4 separate regions of the Homo sapiens genome follow, and all the other regions are linked to region 1. The links are contacts of gene promoters, found by promoter capture Hi-C in human tissues and cell types (Jung and others, 2019). All regions are on one chromosome and are shown on one strand. Each heading gives the region's core, a stretch centred on a gene start or on the middle of the fragment in contact. The rest is flanking DNA. Distances are from core to core; before and after follow the strand shown. Region 1 holds the start of DHRS4-AS1 (DHRS4 antisense RNA 1). Region 2 has its middle 15 kb from the start of MYH7. Region 3 overlaps KHNYN (KH and NYN domain containing). Region 4 has its middle 28 kb from the start of NGDN.

Evidence for each region. The method cuts DNA at HindIII sites, captures the fragments that hold promoters and counts their contacts. A contact is called where the count stands out against the background at its distance.
Region 2: a contact is called between a fragment that was not itself captured here and the fragment with the promoter of DHRS4-AS1 in region 1, in 1 of the 25 tissues and cell types used here (IMR-90 fibroblasts).
Region 3: a fragment that was not itself captured here is called in contact with the fragment with the promoter of DHRS4-AS1 in region 1 in 1 of the 25 tissues and cell types used here (adrenal gland).
Region 4: a contact is called between a fragment that was not itself captured here and the fragment with the promoter of DHRS4-AS1 in region 1, in 1 of the 25 tissues and cell types used here (mesenchymal stem cells).

The regions. Positions count from the first base shown.
Region 1 is chr14:23,953,179-23,956,745 of GRCh38, forward strand. It overlaps DHRS4-AS1 (DHRS4 antisense RNA 1), which reads right to left and starts at 1,934. Exons shown (of 2, transcript NR_023922.2): 1 at 1,570-1,934. DHRS4 (dehydrogenase/reductase 4) reads left to right here and starts at 592. Exons shown (of 8, transcript NM_021004.4): 1 at 592-738; 2 at 1,857-2,034. The coding sequence starts at 611. RefSeq lists enhancers at 114-313, 924-1,053, 1,104-1,233. The HindIII fragment of the contact is 7,990 bases long and covers 1-3,567 here.
Region 2 is chr14:23,448,590-23,452,156 of GRCh38, forward strand. No RefSeq gene overlaps it. Among named protein-coding and RNA genes, the nearest start is that of MYH7, 15 kb to the left of the region's middle. The HindIII fragment of the contact is 6,568 bases long and covers 1-3,567 here.
Region 3 is chr14:24,433,988-24,437,554 of GRCh38, forward strand. It overlaps KHNYN (KH and NYN domain containing), which reads left to right. Exons shown (of 8, transcript NM_015299.3): 6 at 2,085-2,192; 7 at 2,401-2,502; 8 at 3,049-3,567. The coding sequence ends at 3,298. Among named protein-coding and RNA genes, the nearest start is that of KHNYN, 5.8 kb to the left of the region's middle. The HindIII fragment of the contact is 4,482 bases long and covers 1-3,567 here.
Region 4 is chr14:23,496,221-23,499,787 of GRCh38, forward strand. No RefSeq gene overlaps it. Among named protein-coding and RNA genes, the nearest start is that of NGDN, 28 kb to the left of the region's middle. The HindIII fragment of the contact is 8,706 bases long and covers 1-3,567 here.

The DNA.
Region 1 (3,567 bases), core at 684-3,183:
GGCCAATGACCATAGTCTGCCCTCCAGGGCCCGTGAAGATGGAAGAGACCTTGGGCAGAGTGAAGGGCAGTGCCAGGCCTGGCGCAGCTACTCCCTATCACGTCTCTCTCCCAGGCTCTTCCAGCCTCACCTGGTGGACTCCATGGCGACCACAGGCCTCACCTCCATGGGCAGTCTCAAAACATTTGCCCTCCTGTGGGCTGTCACACACATAGACCCAGACTTTCTTGGAGAAGGAATTCTGAAGAAGCAAAAGCAACCAACTCAAAACCCCCACTTCCCAGAGAAGAAAAGGTGGGCAAGCAGATGCAGAAAGGCAGCAGCCAAAGCCTGCGGGTTCCTGCAAGGGCCAGGGGAGGGGCGAGCCCTACAGGCAACTTGAACGGAGAGCTCACCCGCCAGCCCGGAAAGGCAAGCCCCAGTCAGGCGGAAGGTAGATGGTGGAGGGGCGCCGCGGCGGATGGAGGTGCCCAGGGCCACAGACCGCTCACAGCGGTACCGGGGCGGGGAGCAGGGCGGGCAGGGAATCGGCCCGCCCTTCGTCCTGCCCCTCGCCCTACTCTGTCACCGCCCCTGGGAAGAGTGGAACCCATACTTGCTGGTCTGATCCATGCACAAGGCGGGGCTGCTAGGCCTCTGTGCCCGGGCTTGGAATTCGGTGCGGATGGCCAGCTCCGGGATGACCCGCCGGGACCCGCTCGCAAATAAGGTGGCCCTGGTAACGGCCTCCACCGACGGGTGAGTGCTCCGGCCGGAGTTTCTGAGGCCCTGGCTGCCTGGAAACAGGCACTGGCCTCTCATCCTCGGCCTCCGGTGCCCCTGTCCTCAGACCTTACACGCTGCCAAAGTCTGGCCCTGGAAAAAAGGTAGCCACGTGGTCCGCCTGAAGCCACTCCGAATCCCCTAGCCCTGGACCCTCCCTTGCCAGCCCTCCTGTCCCTGCTACCTCTGGCACAACTGTGCCACCTCTGTGCAGCCCTATCGATCTAGTCTCCCCAGTGTTCTGGGCTGCCCCAGTCAACCAGCGCCACCTAGCGTCTGGGAAGACCAGAAACTGGAAATCCAAGGAAATCTGGATTTCAAAATACTATCCCACGGCCTCCAGCACTTTGAAAATGTACCAGACATTCTATTTGGGCACCGGAAAGTCCCCCGGAACCCCTCCCCCTTACCTAGATGGGACACCAGAGCCATATGTCGAGATTTTTGTTTAGGTCGGTACATCTGGGCCGACCTTGCCCAGCCTGTTTCTCACCCACCATTCTTGTCTATCCTGGTCCTCATTTCTACAGGACTTTGCTAGATGCCAGCTCTTCACAAAACTAAAATACAAATGTAGGTAAAATGCTAATAGCTGACAAATGCAAAATGTGTAACTCTTCCTCCCAAGGCAATATTTACATTTTTGACCGGAGACCATCTTTTCACATGCACCCCAAAAAATAACTAAGGATAGAATTTTGAGAATGATGTAGACGAGTAAGAAAGAAACCTGGGGGCAGGGCTGTTCTGAGTGAGACCCTCAAATCACGGAAGTGGCTGCTGCTGCAAACCCAGCTCATTTCTCACCTCTCAGTCCCAAGAGGGGATGAAGCCTGTCACCCATGGTGGGAACTGTAGAAAGTGATGTCAGTTCTTGGGAACTGAGGCTGTGGTCCAGGTCATAATAAAAACAAGTAAAGGAATGCCAAAAATGGCCATGCCATTAAGCCTGTTTTACACATAGTAGGCACACGTAGGGGTTATATAGAGAAAGAGCCAGAATTCAAACCCGGGCAGTCTTAACTTCAGAGCTCATACTGTCGACCTCTTCCCCTGCACAGGCCTTAGCAGTCTTTGTCTCTTTCTGCTCACAGGATCGGCTTCGCCATCGCCCGGCGTTTGGCCCAGGACGGGGCCCATGTGGTCGTCAGCAGCCGGAAGCAGCAGAATGTGGACCAGGCGGTGGCCACGCTGCAGGGGGAGGGGCTGAGCGTGACGGGCACCGTGTGCCATGTGGGGAAGGCGGAGGACCGGGAGCGGCTGGTGGCCACGGTGAGCTGCAGGGAAATGGGCACAGAGCCAGGAGGTGGAAAACGGAGCCAGCCTGAGCCTCCTTCCCTGCTTTCCTAGACAGCAGCACATTTTTACTGTGTGCCTTTCTATTATGTCCATATACTAACGTCAGAGAATCATCCCATCTCAGTCAGAGAATTTTAAAACATTCTAATGCTTCAACCCTGCATCATCCCTTGAGTACCCCAAAGAAACAGCTGGTACTGGTTCTGCAGTAATTTTCAATCTAATTGAACAGATGTGAAGGGTAAATACAATCACAAAATACATGTTCCCACCCATGAGTTAATAAACATTCCCCTCTTCTTCAGCTTATAGAGTCAAGTCCCTGGGAACCTCAGGAAGCAGCCCACCATGTTTCAGCCACTTACTATGTGCCATTTCCTGTGTTCAGAGCCTTACACAGGTTATCTCTAGACCTGACAACAACCCAAGCAAGGCAAGGACTATTCTCTCAGTCTGCAGACCCTGGCTCAGATAGCTGGAGCAACTTCCCAAGGTCCCACAGCCAGTAAGGAAAGACCCAGACCTCCCAGGCTCCCTTCCTTTATTGGCTGCCTGTGGACTACCGGGTACTGGACTTTAGTCTCAAAGAAAGTATATAAGTCGATGTCAGAATTAGTAGTGGACACCAGCCTTGCAGCTGCTGAAGCAAATATGAAGCATTCACAAAGGAAGCTCCTCTTCCCTTGAGGCTCACGGCATACACTTTATTTCCCAGAGTGGAAGGGAGAATCTACCCAAAAATGGAAAGTACAGGATTCTGCTAACAGATTGGAAGGTTGGCAGAAATAATTTGCATAATCTTAGAAGAGGAGGATCTTAAGCAATAGTAGACAGTAGTATGGTAGACAGAATAGGGTAATTCCATTTTTAAGGAACTGTCTGGCAAATGCTCAAATGTGCATTGGAAAGAGCCAAATATGAGTCCAAGAAAGTCACAAATGTGAGTCCAAAAAAGCTTGGCTTAGGCTGATGGACAGACCCCAAGATTGGGGCCTTGATCCTGATGGTGGAAGGAGCCGTTTGGGAGTCTGGATCAATTAGCACTAACCATATGACATGTAGCAATGTAATGTGAAAATCCTCCCGGAAAAACATCCTGTGGCCCCCACCAGGTTCACTTAACATGGCCTACAGGCCTGGCCCAGAGGTGGTACTTGAGCTAAACCTTAAGGAATGGATGGGAATGGACAGATGGAATAGTGATGAGGTTCCAGATAACTCTGCAAAATGAGCAGACAGCCAAGGAGGAACTGAAGGAAACAGAGGAGCACTGTCAGGCCACAGTGGAGAGCACAGGCTCAGGAGTACTGCTGGGGAAGGGGCTGCATTGGAAAGATAGAGGCCATGGGCCTCCATATCCTTTTTTTTTTTTTTTTTTTTTTGAGACAGAGTTTCATTCTTGTTGCCCAGGCTGAAGTGATATGGCACAATCTCAGCTCACTGCAACCTCCGCCTCCAGGTTCAAGCAATTCTCATGCCTCAGCCTCCCGAGCAGCTAGGATTACA
Region 2 (3,567 bases), core at 337-2,836, 500 kb before region 1:
AACCATTCATAAGAAATCTGCTCCCATGATCCAGTCACCTCTCACCAGGCCCCACCTCCAACATTGGGGATTACATTTCAATATGAGATTTGGGTGGGGACACAGATACAAATTATATCAGAATATGTCAAGAAGGAGCTGAGCAGAGAAGCCAGCGTGTCCAAAGCCCCAAGAGGAACTGAAATTGATTCAGAATGGCTAAAGTATGGGAGTAATCAGGGGAATATGACAAGAGAAGAGCCTAGAAGGCAGGTTCAGCTGGTCATGAAGGACCTTCTGAACCAAGTTAAGGAAGTTTGGACTTTAATCTATAGGCACTGAGCAGCTATTAATGTGTATTAAAAGAGATCATGATACTATCTGATTTTATAGAATAGGTGGCATAACCAGTGATTCTTGGGGGAAAGCAACGTTTAGTTTCTGATTCATTTGCATGAGAGATTCTAGACTTGTGGTCACAGGTAAAGAATGAAGAAACCTACCTAGAGAAACTGGGAACTAGAGAAGAGAAAGGGGAAGGGATCCAGGAGAAAGGTACTCAGTTACATTTATACTATTCGGCAGATTCCACCTTCGAAATGTCCCGCCTCCTCCTTTCTTTTCCATTCTCTTGAAAAACACTAGGCAAGCCCCTTTTTCACGTCTGCATAATTGCAACAGCACCTTAACTAGTCTTCCAGAGGCTCATTTCACCAGATGGCTAGCAGACTTGATTTTCTAAAGCACTACCTCTTACATATCTGTCATTCATAGAAACTTCCAGGGCTCCCTGTTGTCTTTAAGATGAAGCCTGGACTCCTCTGGCTGGCATTTAAAGACCCTCCATAAGCTGGCCCAACTGCCCCACCTTATCCCTTCACAGTCTCCCCCCAGGTCTGACTGGTCTATGGACAGCACCCTCACCCCAGGTTGGGCTTTCTCAGTCCCTGACCTTGTCGGGACTTTTTCTGGCTGCTTTTCTAGGCACAGCTCAGTGGCTCTCCTTTGAAAGCACTTGCCAGTCCAACACAGCTGACCCTGAAACACACAAAACAAACTTTGTTGAAACTTTACAACTACAAAAATGACACCCAAGATCTCCTACCCAATCACATTATTCTCCTTTGTTCAGTTCTTTCCAAGGGGTGTGTATATGTGTATAATACATATTTTTTGTATGGCTGCTGTGTGTAGATATATATGTACATAATCTCATAAAACACCAATTAGCATTTCATATTCTTACAATCTTATATTTCATAAATGGGGATAATAATATTGCTAACCTATGGGTTTGCTGTCAGATAACTTAATACAGTGATATAGTTTAAATATGTGTCCCCCCAAATCTCATGTTGAAATGTAATCCTCAGTGTTGGAGGTGGGGACTGGTGGGAGGTGTTTAGGTCCTGGGCGTAGATTTCTCATGAATGGTTTAGCTCCATCCCCTTGGTGCTGTCCTCACCATAGTGTGTGTGTTCTCTCAAGATCTGATTGTTTAAAAGCGTGTGGCACCCTCTCCCTGTCTTGCTCCCGCTCTTGCCATATGACATGCCTTCTCCTGCTTTGCCTTCTGCCATGAGTAAAAGTTCCTTGAGGCCTTCCCTGAAGCTGAGCAGATACTGTAAAGCCTGCAGAACTGTGAGGCAATTAAACCTCTTTTCTTCGTAAATTACCCAGTCTCAGGTACTTCTTCATAGCAATGCAAGAATGGCATAATACATACAGAGATTCTCAAACTTGTTCATGCTGCAGAATCACACAGAAGCTTTGTTAGGACACATTTTCTTGGCTGGGTGCAGTGGCTCATGCTTGTAATCCCAGGACTTTGGGAGGCAGATCATTTGAGGTCAGGAGTTTGAGACCAGCCTGATCAACATGATGAAACCCCATCTGTATGAAAAATACAAAACAATTAGCTGGTGTGGTGGTGCATGCCTATAATCCCAGCTACCTGGGAGCCTGAAGCAGGAGAATCACTTGGGCCTGGGAGGTGGAGACTGCAGTAAGCCGAGATTGCATCACTGCACTCCAGCCTGGGATGCCTGAATTTGCATACCAGATGCTACTGGATTGAGGACCACACATTGAGAACCACTGAATTAATGCATGTAAAGTGCTCAGAATAGTGCCTGGCATGTAGTAAATGCCCAATAAATGGAGCTACGGAGCTATTCATTTGCTATTTCTGAGTAAAAATATTAACATTTACTTGTTTGATATTTAGATTGTTTATAGTTTTAAATAACATTGTTATTGAGATATAATTCATGTGCCATAACATTTACCATTTTACAATATACGATTCAGTAGTTTTTAGTATATTCAGAGTTGTGCAAGCATCACCACTATCAAATTTTAGAACATTTTCATCACCCCCAAAAGAAATACCATACCTATTAGCAGTTACTCCTCTTTCCCACTGACTCCCTGTTTGTAGTTTTTTTGAACTTATAAATAAAGTATCTCTAAACATAAGTACACATGGCTTCTTTTTATTTTGAATGATTTCAATAGAACAAATTCTAGGAGACGAATTCCTTAGTCAAAAATTATGAATATGTTTACATATAGCCACTCTTTGAAAGCATTAATTTACAATCATTGTGGCTTTTTTTCCTGCTGTTGCTTTTCATTGTTAGCATATTGCTTATTCTTACACCGCTTCAGTTTCCTTAAGTTGATGGCACCAGAATATGAGGTCCTTGGGGTTGAGAACTGTAATATTTTCATCTTTGTGTCCCCTAGGGCTACACTACTGAGTGTGGTAGTCACTAGCCAAACATGGCTGTTGGGTACTTGAAATGTGTCTAGTGCAACTGAGACACTGAATTTTTCATTTAGTTAAAATTTAAAATGAAGGGAGATCAATTTATTTTCAACAAAGATTCCAAAACAATTCTTTGAGGAAATGGTGCTGGATACACACATGCAAAAAGATACATTTAGACCACACCCCACACTATACACAAAAATAACTTAAAACAGTTCAGAGACTTACATGTAAGATCTAAAACTTACAATTTTTGGAAGAAAACGTAGGAAAAGTCTTTGGTTAGGAAACAAGTTCTTACATACAATACCAAAAGCATAATCCACAAAAGACAAAATTGTAAGTTGGACTTCATCAAAGTTGAAAGATTTTGTGCTTCAAAAGATGTCATTAAGAAGATTAAAATTTTAAAAAGAAAATTAAAATCTAAGCCACAGACTGGAAGAAAATACTTGCAAATCATATTTCTAATAAAGGACTTGTGTTAAGAATAGATAAAGAACAAGTACAACTCAATAATAATACAAGAAAATTTTAAAATAGTCAAAAGATTTATAGACTTAAAGTCAGCTAATTAGCAAGGTTAAAGAAAGAAAAGATTTATAGATATTTCAACAAAGATATGCAAATGTATAACAAGCACACAAAATATGCTCAACATCATCAATCATTATAGAAATTCTAATTAAAACCTCAATGAGATAGCACTTCATACCCATGAGTGTGACTATAATAAAAAAGAAAGGCAATAATAAATTGTGGCTAGGATGTGGAGAAACCAAAACTCTCCAACATTGCTGGTGAGAACGTAAAAT
Region 3 (3,567 bases), core at 516-3,015, 480 kb after region 1:
GTGATTATATACTTTGTCTTTTCAAACACTTACCTTCTATTCCTTAACAAGCAAATGGTATTCTACAAAAAAGCAGTTTACGTTCTCCCAATGTTATTCTATTTATATCTAGATGTCACAGATTACCCAAGATATGGAATCTTCTTTCCACACCTGCATTGAAACAGAATTGAAACTGAAGATTGAGTTCGTTTTAATGAATGTTAAAGGCATGTGTCTGCCCAGTTGTGTGGGACCTGGTTGGCAGATAACATAATATAAATTGGGAATTCGCCCAGTAACAGTGAATAAGCACAGTGGTACACAGCGTAGGCATACGGAATGAATGTTGCTGAACAACATACTGTGTAATGCGATCATAGTAAAATATGCTTAACTGGAAAATACCATTTGCATACCATAAGTGTACCATATAATTTTTTTTTGGTTTGTTTTTGAGACGGAGCCTTGCTCTGTCGCCACGCTGGAGTGCAGTGGCACGATCTCGGCTCACTGCAACCTCTGCCTCCCAGGTTCAAGTGATTCCCTTACCTCAGCCTCCCGAGTAGCTGGGACTTCAGGTGCATGCCACCGTGCCCAGCTAACTTTTTGCATTTTAGTAGAGATGGGGTTTCACCATGTTGGCCAGGGTGGTCTTGATTTCCTGACCTCATGATCCGCCCACCTCAGCCTCCCAAAGTGCTGGGATTACAGGCGTGAGCCACCAAGCCCGGCCATAGACATTTGTATGTCATTCCCTTAATTTGTTTCCCAGACAGAAGCTCAGAGCCTGATATCTGTCACACCTAATCCTGACTCCCAGTTCCCCCTATACCACACTATCTTTCAAATACTGACTGCTCACTTAGTACTAGGTGCATGGCCTGCAGGAGGAGGTGGGAACACTGGGAACAAGATCTGATTCTTGACTAGAGAGCCGAAAGAAACCATAAATCAAACACTACAGGAACTCAGAGGGAAAGGAGCCCCATTCTGGCTGGGGTTTTGTGGGAAAGGAGAGATTTGTGAGTTTTTGTGTTGAGAAGACTGGGATGGGTTGGATCTCTGTTTCTAAATCTGTTAAAAAGACCACCACCCATCACTTCATGAGTCCTACCCTGTCTTGTGGAATCAGAATTACTGAATGGAGCCCAGGCATTTTTTAAAAAAGTTCCCTTGGTAATTCTGTTCCTTAGCAAGTCTTGGGAAGTGCCTTCCAGATAGAGGAAATAGTTGGAGAAATATGGAAGTCAGCATAAGACATATGTGGAGAGCAGAGTGTAATCTGATTATTGATTTTAGCTGGAGTTGAGAGTGGGTTAGGGAATATTGGGAGAGATAAGGCTGTAAGGGTGATTTGAGCTGGCCTGTAGAAGGCCTTAGCTGCCAGGCCTGGGTGTGTGGACTTTATTTGGTAAATAAAGGGCAAGTGTGGAAGAGTTTTGTGTAGGTGATAAGCATGCTTTCTTGGGGCAGGGCAGGGGAGACTGGAGGGTGGGTGAGTGGTCAGAGGCGGGGACCCCCTTGTTAGGAGGTTATGCATAATCTCAGTTGCAATATCTGAATTACTGGGGTGGTAATGGTGGGCCTGGGAAGGAAGGGAGCAGAGCACAAGGCTTTTCAAAGGAAAGGCATGTTGGATTTGCAAGGGATTGGTTGGGCAGGGTGGAAGACAGAGCTAGATCTTACTGTTTACTAACGAGGCACAAAGTGTTGGGTGAAGGACTATGGTTGGCAGATAGGATGCTACTGGGAGACCACCTTGGATTCATCTTTGTTTCCTCTCTAGGCCATGGCACTTGCATCTAGTCAGTTGCCTGTAGCTGGGTCAAGGTGAGGTAGGGGGCCAGATCTCCATCACCAGAAGTGGCCTATGGGAGACAGTAAAACTTCTGGGGTTGGGGCCTTGGAGAGTCCCAAATGGTTGCTGTGGTTTTTACTTTTATTTTTGTAGATTTGGGGGATACCAATACAGTTTTGCTACATAGATATATTGCATAGTGGTGAAGTCTAGGCTTTTAATGTAACCATGATCCAAACAGTGAACATTGTACCCAGTAGGTAATTTTTCAACCCTCTCTCGGTTGCTGTGGTTTTGGAGACAGGTTCATGGTGAAGCTGGCTGAAGAGACAGATGGGATAATTGTCTCCAATGACCAGTTCCGGGACCTGGCGGAGGAGTCTGAGAAGTGGATGGCAATCATCAGAGAACGGTGAGGGAGCCCTCCCGCTGAGAACTGGGCACAGATGCAGATGTTTTTCTAAAGCCAGCTCTGCTCTGGCCATGGGGTGAAAACTCTGGGAAGGAGGTGAAGTTTTCTTGAAGGATGGAGCCAGCAGCTTCTGGTGATACTGGTCTCGGTTGTCTGGGAGGTGGGCAAGGGCCCCCTCTGTGACCACACATTATCTTTCGCCATCCAGCCTGCTGCCCTTTACCTTTGTGGGAAACCTCTTCATGGTACCTGATGACCCACTGGGGCGAAACGGCCCCACCCTGGATGAATTTCTGAAGAAGCCAGCCAGGTAATCAATCCCCTAGACTACTTACAGGCAGCCCCCACCCCTGGCCCTCTCTCAGCAGGCCCAGAGACTTGGGTGGAAGTGTGACCTCAGTTTGGGCCAGCTTAATTTTGCAGTGGTTTGAGTTGCATTGGCCTTGGCCTTTATAAGCTTCCCAGGGGATCCTGACATAGAACCTCCTTGCTGGGAGGGAAACACCTGCTTCCTGTTTCTCTTAATCAGCATGTTTGATGGAGTTATTTGGAAAATGGTTGCTTATACTGACAGCCAGTTGTATTCAGCATGCCTTCTGCTGACCATTACATAAGTGATTCATTTAGGACTAGAACTAGATCATAATAGTGGCAGAGTTCACCCTGTTTCTAAAAGAACGGCCCATCTTCCCTTCAGAAGTGGGTTGATACTGCCACTCAGTGGTCAGCTTCAGGAACTTCAGGATTTCTCCCCCAAAGCCAGGAATAGGCAGGACAATTACGAGAGGGGTGCCCACTAAGATCTAATTTCCCCCCCAGGATGCTCATCAGCTCTTTTTGGTCTGTTTCTTCCCAGGACACAGGGGTCTTCTAAGGCTCAGCATCCTTCCAGGGGCTTTGCAGAACATGGTAAACAGCAGCAGGGGAGAGAAGAGGAAAAAGGTAGTGGTGGCATTCGGAAGACCCGGGAAACAGAGCGGCTCCGGCGGCAGCTGCTGGAGGTGTTTTGGGGTCAGGATCACAAAGTGGACTTCATCCTGCAGCGGGAGCCATACTGCCGGGACATCAACCAACTGTCTGAGGCCCTGCTCAGTCTTAACTTTTGAGCCTCACCTGCTTGAGTGGCTGCCGCCCTGTCAGCTCCAGCCGCCTCCAGCTCAGCCCTTTCTGTGAGAGTCCCTCTGCTGCTCACTCTGATCCAGAGGCACCCTGAGTTGGTGCTTTGGATCAGGGAAGCCACTTTGGGACAGGTCCATAAAGTGAACTGATCTTACCGAGTCAGGACCTCAGCCAGCTCTCAAGAGGTTCTGCTCAGCCTTAACTTCTCAACTTTGCCTTAGCACAGGGTTTCTGTAGGGAGTGGGGGCTGCTAGAG
Region 4 (3,567 bases), core at 288-2,787, 460 kb before region 1:
AGTTGCCTCATCTTTAAAGAGAAAGTAATATCCACTCTGTGTTGATACATAGAACAGGAAATTTCCAAAGCAAAGCTTAAAGTAGAATGTGCTCTTAACCACAAAAACACTTTCCTCGGAGGCATTAAGTCTCCTGCGTCCAGGTAGGTCCTGAAGTATCCCTGCCTTGCAGATGAAGTAACTGAGACCTACAAAGGTTATATTTTGAGCTGATCTTGTCTTTGTTTCAGAGAATGATCTTTACTCAAATGTCCCCTTCTCTATGACCGCTCTATTTAAAATGGCCCTATCTTTCCCTCTATACAAACCCCTGTCCCCCTTCCCTGCTTTATTTTTCTCTGTGGCATTTGCAACATCTAACATACTACATATACTTAGAGATGGCTTATCTACTGAACATTGCCTTATGGTACAATTTCTGCTGGCATTTCAAGAGCAGAGGAATGTCGTGGCTAGAGTGAGCCTTGGACATTATGCATCTTGGGTCTTGCCTTCTGGCTAAAAAGGGATCCTGCCAAGTGGAAGGATCTTGGTAGTCTGTTTAGCTGGGCTCAGCTTCAAGGTCAAGGATAAAACTGGTAGTAAATAATATTCGGAAGAAGAAATCTGGGAAATAGGACTATTGTGTTCCTTTGTTCCTGAGCTTGTCACAGGCACTGTCCTGTTGGGGAAAGCCAAGAGGGTTCAGAGGGCTCAGGTTCCCTAGAGTGAATTCCTTGTAGATTGGTCCAGTTACTAATGAGGTTACTATATTAAAAATTCAGATTTATGGTGGCTCACACCTGTAATCCCACCACTTTGGGAGGCCGAGGTGGGCGGATCACTTGAGGTCAGGAGTTCGAGATCAGTCTGGCCAACATAGTGAAACCCCGTCTCTACTAAAAATAAAAAAACTTAGCCGGGCATGGTGGCGCATGGCTGTAGTCCCAGCAGCTGAGGAGGCCGAGGCAGGAGAATGGCTTGAACCCAGGAGATGGAGGTTGCAGTGAGCTCAGATCATACCACTGCACTCCAGCCTGGGCAACGGAGTGAGACTCCATCTCCAAAAAAAAAACCACTCAGATTTATGCAAAATTTAATGATTAGTGAAAACGGTTTTACTTACAAAAAGATTTGGGACATTTATGTGCTATAGATGACAAAACCCTGGACTAAGACTTAGCAGTTCTGGCCTGGGTGCAGTAACTCATACCTGTAATCCCAGCACTTTGGGAGGCTGAGGTGGGTGGATTGCCTGAGCCTAGGAGTTTGAGACCAGCCTGGGCAACATGGCAAAACCCTGTCTCTAAAACAAATACAAAAATTAGCTGGTTGTGGTAGCGCACGCCTATAGTCCTAGCTACTCAGGAAGCGGAGGTGGGAGGATCCCCTGAGCCTGGGAGGTCGAGGCTGCAGTAAGTCATGACTGTGCCACTGCACAACAGCCTGGGTGACAGAGTGAGACCCTGTCTCAAAACAAACAAACAGGGCTGGGCGCGGTGGCTCACACCTGTAACCCCAGCACTTTGGGAGGCTGAGGCGGGTGGATCACCTGAGGTCAGGAGTTCGAGACCAGCCTCAACATGGAGAAACCCCATCTCTACTAAAAATACAAAATTAGCAGGGCGTAGTGGTGCATGCCTGTAATCTCAGCTACTCGGGAGGCTGAGGCAGGAGAATTTTTTGAACCTGGGAGGTGGAGGTTGCGGTGAGCCGAGATCGGGCCATTGCACTCCAGCCTGGGCAACAAGAGCGAAACTCCGTCTAAAAACAAACAAACAAATAAACAAAAGACTTAGCTCTGCATTCCAATCTTGGCTCTGCAGCTAATTTCTGTGTGGCCTTTGGTAAGGCACTTAACTTCTCTGAAGTTGGGTTTCACTATTTCTTCCTAAGTTGCGATCTCTCTAGTTTGATCATATGAGATCTTAGGTTTAAAATTTTTTTTTTTTTTTTTTTTTGAGTTGGAGTTTCACTCTTGTTGCCCAGGTTGGAGTGTGGCGCAATCTCGGCTCACCGCAACCTCCGCCTCCCAGGTTCAAGCAATTCTCCTGCCTCACCCTCCCTAGTAGCTGGGATTACAGGCATGTGCCACCATGCCTGGCTAATTTTGTATTTTTAGTAGTGACGGGGGTTTCTCCATGTTGGTCAGGCTAGTCTCGAACTCCTGACCTCATGTGATCCACCTGCTGTGGCCTCCCAAAGTGCTGAGATTACAGGCGTGAGCCACCGTGCCCTGACAGGTTTAAAGTTTTTAATGCTAGGCCAGGTGTGGTGGCTCACGCCTGTAATCCCCAACAGTTTGGGAGGCCTAGGTGGGTGGATCACCTGAGGATAGGAGTTCAGACCAGCCTGGCCAACATAGTGAAACCCCGTCTCTACTAAAAATACAAAAATTAGCCTGGCGCGGTGGTGTGTGCCTATAGTCCCAGCTACTCGGGAGGCTGAGGCAGGAGAATGGCGTGAACACAGGAGGCGGAGGTTGCAGTGAGCCGAGATTGCGCCACTGCACTCCAGCCTGGGCGACAGAGCGAGACTCTGTCTCAAAAAAAATAAAAATAAAAATAAGTAAAAGTTTTTAAAACTTATAAAGGAAAGAAGGATATGAATATGTGTTAGCATTTATTGGGTGACTCCTAAATGCCAACCACAGGATAAGGGGTTTTTCTTAGGAAAACTAGCTCATTTAATCTTTACAGTCACTGGGGCATTTTGCAACCATCTTACAGATGAGGAAACTGAGGCTTTTGGAGATTTTTTCCTTAGAGAGTGAAAAAATTTTCCAGGGTTCCAGATTTATTACAAGAGCTCCTTTCTCAGATGTGGATCTTGGTCCTCAGGATGCTGCCTAGCTGCCCCCTTGGAATACTGCTGTTGCTGTACTGGCATGCTTCTTTGCTGAGCTTCAGCATGAGAATATAAATAGTTTTTCTTGGCTGGGTGCGGTGGCTCACGCCTGTAATCCTAGCACTTCGGGAGGCCGAGGCGGGTGGATCACGAGGTCGGGAGATTGAGACCATCCTGGCTAACATGGTGAAACCCCATCTCTACTAAAAATGCAAAAAATTAGCCGGGCGTGGTGGCAGGCACCTGTAGTCCCAGCTACTCGGGAGGCTGAGGCAGGAGAATGGCGTGAACCCGGGAGGCGGAGCTTGCAGTGAGCGGAGATCGTGCCACTATACTCCAGCCTGGGTGACAGAGCAAGACTGTCTCAAAAAAAATAAATAAATACAATAAAGAAATAAATAAAATAGTTTTTCTCATTCAGCGGTGTTAAAATGGGAATCATCAAACAAAACAGTCCTAAGCAGTGTTCTATGGCAATAGCCTGAATGGGACAGATTAGCAAGGCCACAAGATCTTTGGCTTTGCCCAAACCCAGTGGACCTCACCATTTGACCTGTTGAACTTTTCTTCTTGAAACTCTTCTTCCTTGGTTTCTGTGATGTACACTCCCATTGGTCTTTGCATCTCCCTGTTCCTTCTTGGTCTCTTTGGCTTCAGAGCCTTCTCTCACCCCTTAGACATCTTAAGAGTCTGTCCTCTTCTCTGCTTCTCACGCAGCATTTTCTCACTGGGTCATGTCAT